2 separate regions of the Homo sapiens genome follow, and region 1 is linked to region 2. The links are contacts of gene promoters, found by promoter capture Hi-C in blood cells and fetal thymus (Javierre and others, 2016). All regions are on one chromosome and are shown on one strand. The core of a region is centred on a gene start or on the middle of the fragment in contact, and the rest is flanking DNA. Distances in the headings are between cores, read along the strand shown. Region 1 overlaps LINC02945 (long intergenic non-protein coding RNA 2945). Region 2 holds the start of NEUROG2 (neurogenin 2).

Evidence for each region. Contacts are between HindIII fragments. The CHiCAGO score rates a contact against its expected background, and 5 or more counts as called.
Region 1: a fragment that was not itself captured here is called in contact with the fragment with the promoter of NEUROG2 in region 2 in 1 of 17 cell types (neutrophils); the score reaches 5.1 in neutrophils.

What each region holds. Positions count from the first base shown.
Region 1 is chr4:111,995,162-111,997,861 of GRCh38, reverse strand. All of the region lies in intron 1 of LINC02945 (long intergenic non-protein coding RNA 2945), which reads left to right. Among named protein-coding and RNA genes, the nearest start is that of LINC02945, 120 kb to the left of the region's middle. The HindIII fragment of the contact is 1,435 bases long and covers 704-2,138 here.
Region 2 is chr4:112,514,814-112,517,513 of GRCh38, reverse strand. It overlaps NEUROG2 (neurogenin 2), which reads left to right and starts at 1,334. Exons shown (of 2, transcript NM_024019.4): 1 at 1,334-1,667; 2 at 2,038-2,700. The coding sequence starts at 2,039. NEUROG2-AS1 (NEUROG2 and ZGRF1 antisense RNA 1) reads right to left here and starts at 2,135. Exons shown (of 4, transcript NR_161159.1): 1 at 1,874-2,135. It overlaps LOC124900760 (a long non-coding RNA gene), which reads right to left and starts at 709. Exons shown (of 2, transcript XR_007058231.1): 1 at 475-709. RefSeq lists enhancers at 113-232, 333-432, 1-563 and silencers at 573-852, 2,173-2,242, 2,503-2,700. The HindIII fragment of the contact is 11,776 bases long and covers 1-2,700 here.

The sequences.
Region 1 (2,700 bases), core at 172-2,671, 520 kb after region 2:
GCTCAGCTGATTCTTCCACCTCAGCCTGCCAAGTAGCTGGGATTACAGACACGTGCCACCATGCCTGGCTAATTTTTGTATTTCTTGTAGAGATGGGGTTTCACTATGTTGTCCAGGCTGGTGTTGAATTCTTGGGCTTGAGTGCTCCATCTGCCTCCCAAAGTGTGGGATTACAGGCATCAGCCACCATGAGTGTCCCACTAGCTTGCTTTTATAAGAATCCAAGACACTTGCTAGGACAGCGCAGCTGCCAGTGTTCTGGTTTCCAGGTGGGCAAAGAGGTGAAGGGTTCCCAGTGTTAGGTGGGTCAACTGTCACATAATCCCCTCTTTTCATTGTGGTGCCTCATTGTCATTCTTAGCTGTGCAATCTTAAAAGCCTCTCTACTCGAGGGAGGGCTGTTACTCAGTCTTCTTTGGGATGGAAGAGGAGAAGCCCCATGACTAGGATAAGAGTTAGGAGGGAAATCTGGGGCTCTGATTGTTGTCTATCATGATTTTCAATACATCTGCCTGTTTTCTGGCCCACCCTTCAACTTATACTTTAGAAGGACCTGGTTCCTCTAATTTGGAGTCTGTCTGAGGTTTTGCAGCCTTCTGCATAGTCAATGCCAGGTGTCTGATCTCAAGCTACTTTTAGGTATTTAGTGGTTTGGTATAATCCAAAAGAAAACTGTTTTCGATCTCTCATCCAAATCAAAGCTTCTCTCTTTCCCTGCCTAGTGACTAAGTGGCCAGCAGTGGGCTAGGGGGATCTGGTGAATTATTGTTCTATTTTTCTTGCTTCTGCCTTTCCTTTCCATACGTCAGGTTGCTTCAGGATGGAAGAAGGAGAGGTGAGTGGAGGATGAGAGAAAAAGCGCCTTTAAATTAACAAAGACTGCTAGTTCTCTCTTGGCTCTCCAATACCCATAGAGCCTTGTTATGCTGGTATCTCATGGCCCTGGAAAGCAGTCATTTTGGGCAATGTTTTCTTAGTTGCTTCATGCCCATATATCTTCCTTAGTGTCAACCTAATCCTTGGGACTGTGGCATGATCTCACTAAACTACTCTTTCTTCACTCAGGTGTCATGGTTTTTCTGGCCAGTTATCTGTTCTCATCTCTTCAAAAGAGGTCAGACATCAGAATCTATGTCCTAAAACTCCAGAGGAAAAAAGCCAAGAACCTTCTCTCACTCTGTGCCCGTGGTAATATAGGGTTGACTGTGAGCTTTTGTTCTCAGCAAGGATATTGTCTGGCAGTCTGTCTTTCTGGAGAGCATCTTTTCTATCTTTTTCAGTAGTTCTCTTTGGAAGACTTATTTGGCTTGAGGAGAGAGGAAATGAGACAGTACTATTTATACATAAATGCATTACAGAATCCTCACCAGGAGAGCTCCCTATGGTTCTCTTCTTTAGACCACCAGGGATAAATATTGTTAAATGATAAACAGTCTAGTGACCTACTAACAAGTCTTACTTGGGTGTGTCTGTAAATTTTTTTCTTTATATATTTCTTTCAATCCAAGATACATTCTTTGCCCTTTTCTATCCTGTGTTTTACTCCGGGACACTGATCCCTACAGATTTCATTACCTGGATTCCCCCATAGCTGATTGCTATCCTCCAGTTGGATTTGGTCAATAGGAGATCAATGGGAGAATAAGAGGATGGGAGGAAAAAGGGGTCAGAGTGTTTACTTCCTTTTCCTCCTATTCCATCTTCTATGGCTACAGCTCCCATCACTGGTCCCTGCTTCTCAACCTCAGGTCTCTCTGGGTTCCTGGAACAATATTTTCTCCCTTTCTTCCTTCAGTGCCAGTGGTGCTAATTTTTGCTTCCCACTATTGAAGTCTCTGGGTGTCTCACCATTCTTTGTTTGTTTCCTTCATCATGCCCAAAACTAATGTAAGTTCTCACTTCATTGGAGTTTCTTCATTTGGTTGATTTGGAGTGAATCTTTTTCCTACCAGAATCCTGAAGCATACTGTAGGGGTGTTAGTATCATGGAAAATAGAACCATAGCTTCTGAATTTGAAATAAGGGTTTGTCACTTATTGAGAATGAACTGCATTGCAGGAAGGAAGGATGCGAATACTCAACAGTCAGATGCTAGGAGCAGTCACATCCTAGTTCCTTAATGCATCAAAACCAAAGCTTTCTTTATACATACATAAAGCCTAAGAGCCACTTTAAGCATTGCCTTGGTGAGGAGAAGGCAGAATGTGTAAATACAAATTAAGGTGTTCCTAACTTTGAAAGGGAAATGGTGACAATGTTTATCTGTATGTATCTTTTCTGGAGCCTAATTTTTTCTCTAATGACTTACCGTATTATGAAAGAACTGGTATCTTCATAGTTCTCACTCACTTTCCTCAGCTTTGAAGAATGGAAAAACCCCATTCATTTCCTGTTCCACAAGCAAAGCTCTTGTTCCATGCAGGTTCATGAAATTAATCTTTTGGTTTAAATTCTGTCTGCTCTTAGGAATGTCCCCACTACTTTGGATATTTGCATAAGAAAAAGGAAAAGAAAAAAGAAATCTAGTATATCATTCTTGGGGTGGAGAAAGTGGGAAAAAGAAACAAGACCAGCCGCCTGTTAAATGGGTCTATAATGTTCCTGGTGAATCTTGAGAAAAATGCAGTGTGAGAGGGAGCTGATCTAGCCTATTGTCCCCAAAGGACAGAACACGAGTAATTTCAACAGGTTTACAGAAGC
Region 2 (2,700 bases), core at 85-2,584:
AACGAGCAATTGAGAACAAGTTTCCCCCGAGGTCCAGTAGCCCTTCAGCTCTTTTTTCTCATTGAAAAGCAGAATTGGGAAGATGGGCCCCTTGTCCCTACAACGCCCCCCAGCGCGGAGCAGAGGTCACAGAAATGTCAGCGCAGCGCATTTGCTTGCAGGAGCAGCAGCTCTGCCGCTCCTCCCGCTCGGTTCGCTGCCACCCACGCAGGAAGCCTCCTTGCTGTCCCTCCAGGCTATAAACTGGGTTAACCCCAGCAAAACCTGCATCAGTGCCCGGAGCCTCAGTTTCCTGTATGTAAAATGAGGGGGATCCTTTCAGCTCTAACATGTGAGTGATTTCATTCTCACATCCTCTAAAAGCTCATCAACTGCTCCCCTATCCGACCTCCCCTCCCAAGAGACGCCTGTTTGAATCCCCAGTGTCCTCTCCCTTCACTCTCCCACGCCAGTTTCGACGGACCCCAAACACACTTGTTCACGAGGTGTCCACATCTCTCCATCCACGCCATTCTCCTCCCCTAACCAAATGAATCCATTTTAAAATCGTTTACTATTTGATACAACCCCTAAGAGGCTTTGCCAAGAGACGCCCGGCAGCACCACAGGGCTAACTGCTTTCCCCGGGATTCTGACCCCCATTAACTAATTCCTAGTTCCCATCACCCGGGAGTTAGGAGGGCCGGCAGCGCCGGGTGCGGTGCCTGCGCGCGCGCCGGGCGGGGGGAGCCTCGGCGGCAGCGAGGACGAAGGCGGGGGCGGTAGCACGGGTCCCCCCATCCGCCCCCAGCGCTCGGGCCCCTAATGAGCTGCTGAAAGGGAGCGGGCTCCGGTGCGCGTGGCTCGCAGGCCTCCCGGAGTCCAGGGCGCCCTGATTGGCCAGCTGCGCCTCGCGACCTCCATTCATTAATAAATTAGCGGCACGCTCCAGCCGAGCGCGAGCCACCAATCACAATGGACAGCGGCGGCGACAACAGCCGCAGCTTGAGCCTCTGCGGCCGCTGCGGCTTCGCCAGCTCCGGCCGCAGCCCGGAGCTCCAACAGGAGCTTTAGAACCATTTTATGTTGATTAGATAAAGGGGGAAAAGAGAGGCGGGGGTGGTGGGAGGAGGAGGATGGATGGCAGGGCCAAGGGAGGGGGAAAGGCGGTGAAGAAAGAGGAAGAAATGAATGATGATAATGCAATGAAAAGAATAAGCCAGAGGAGGGAAAAGCGGGGGAGAAGGGGGGCAGGACTGACAGGAGGAGGAGGCGGTGGCGGGGGAGGAGGGGGCCCGGGGCAGATCTGATTGTTTTCTTGGTGGTATATAAGGGGTTTTAAGGAGAGTCGTGTGCCAGACACGCAGCCACTGAACCACAAGCAGCTTCGCGTTAACTGGAGTGCCTGGGAGTCGCGTGCCAGGAGCCGCACGGCCAGGGACTGACTGACAGACAGACACGCACCACCACCACAACACACGAGACCCGGGCGGGCCGCCGCCGCCGCCGCCGGGGCTCTTGGCAAACTCGCCGGTCGCAGAGGTCCCCCGCGGAGCTGCGCCACAGTAGCGCCGGGCTTGCAGCTTTCACGCCGGGCGAAGGACCCGGCGCTGCGCTCGCAGCTGCGCGGAGATTCCCGGCACAGGCCAAAGTCACAGCAACGCTGAGGCACAGTTAGAGCCAACTAAGTAAGTATTCGAGCCACCGCTTCCAACTACGCAGGTGGTTTCCCCGCACTCAGTCCAACCACACCCGCACGCCCTCTGCTCCGCGCAGAATCTTTGTCGCGGAGGCCGCAGTCCCTTCTCGGGGAGGGAACGCAGGACCGCCCGCGGAGGGCAGGACCCGGCTGACTGGCAGCAGGGTCACAGCGAGCGCTAGCGGCGCTCCTGACCTTGGTTAGCACTGCCTGGGTTTCTTCCTTCGCCTTCCTGCTCCGCGCCATTCGGAGCTGGTCTTCTCGGGTGCGCGCCGGAGCACGCCCCTGTGACACGAAGATCGCGCCTCTGTTTCTTTCCTTACACCTCACTGCCTTTTTCCCCTTTCTCTCTTCGGTAGGATGTTCGTCAAATCCGAGACCTTGGAGTTGAAGGAGGAAGAGGACGTGTTAGTGCTGCTCGGATCGGCCTCCCCCGCCTTGGCGGCCCTGACCCCGCTGTCATCCAGCGCCGACGAAGAAGAGGAGGAGGAGCCGGGCGCGTCAGGCGGGGCGCGTCGGCAGCGCGGGGCTGAGGCCGGGCAGGGGGCGCGGGGCGGCGTGGCTGCGGGTGCGGAGGGCTGCCGGCCCGCACGGCTGCTGGGTCTGGTACACGATTGCAAACGGCGCCCTTCCCGGGCGCGGGCCGTCTCCCGAGGCGCCAAGACGGCCGAGACGGTGCAGCGCATCAAGAAGACCCGTAGACTGAAGGCCAACAACCGCGAGCGAAACCGCATGCACAACCTCAACGCGGCACTGGACGCGCTGCGCGAGGTGCTCCCCACGTTCCCCGAGGACGCCAAGCTCACCAAGATCGAGACCCTGCGCTTCGCCCACAACTACATCTGGGCACTCACCGAGACCCTGCGCCTGGCGGATCACTGCGGGGGCGGCGGCGGGGGCCTGCCGGGGGCGCTCTTCTCCGAGGCAGTGTTGCTGAGCCCGGGAGGAGCCAGCGCCGCCCTGAGCAGCAGCGGAGACAGCCCCTCGCCCGCCTCCACGTGGAGTTGCACCAACAGCCCCGC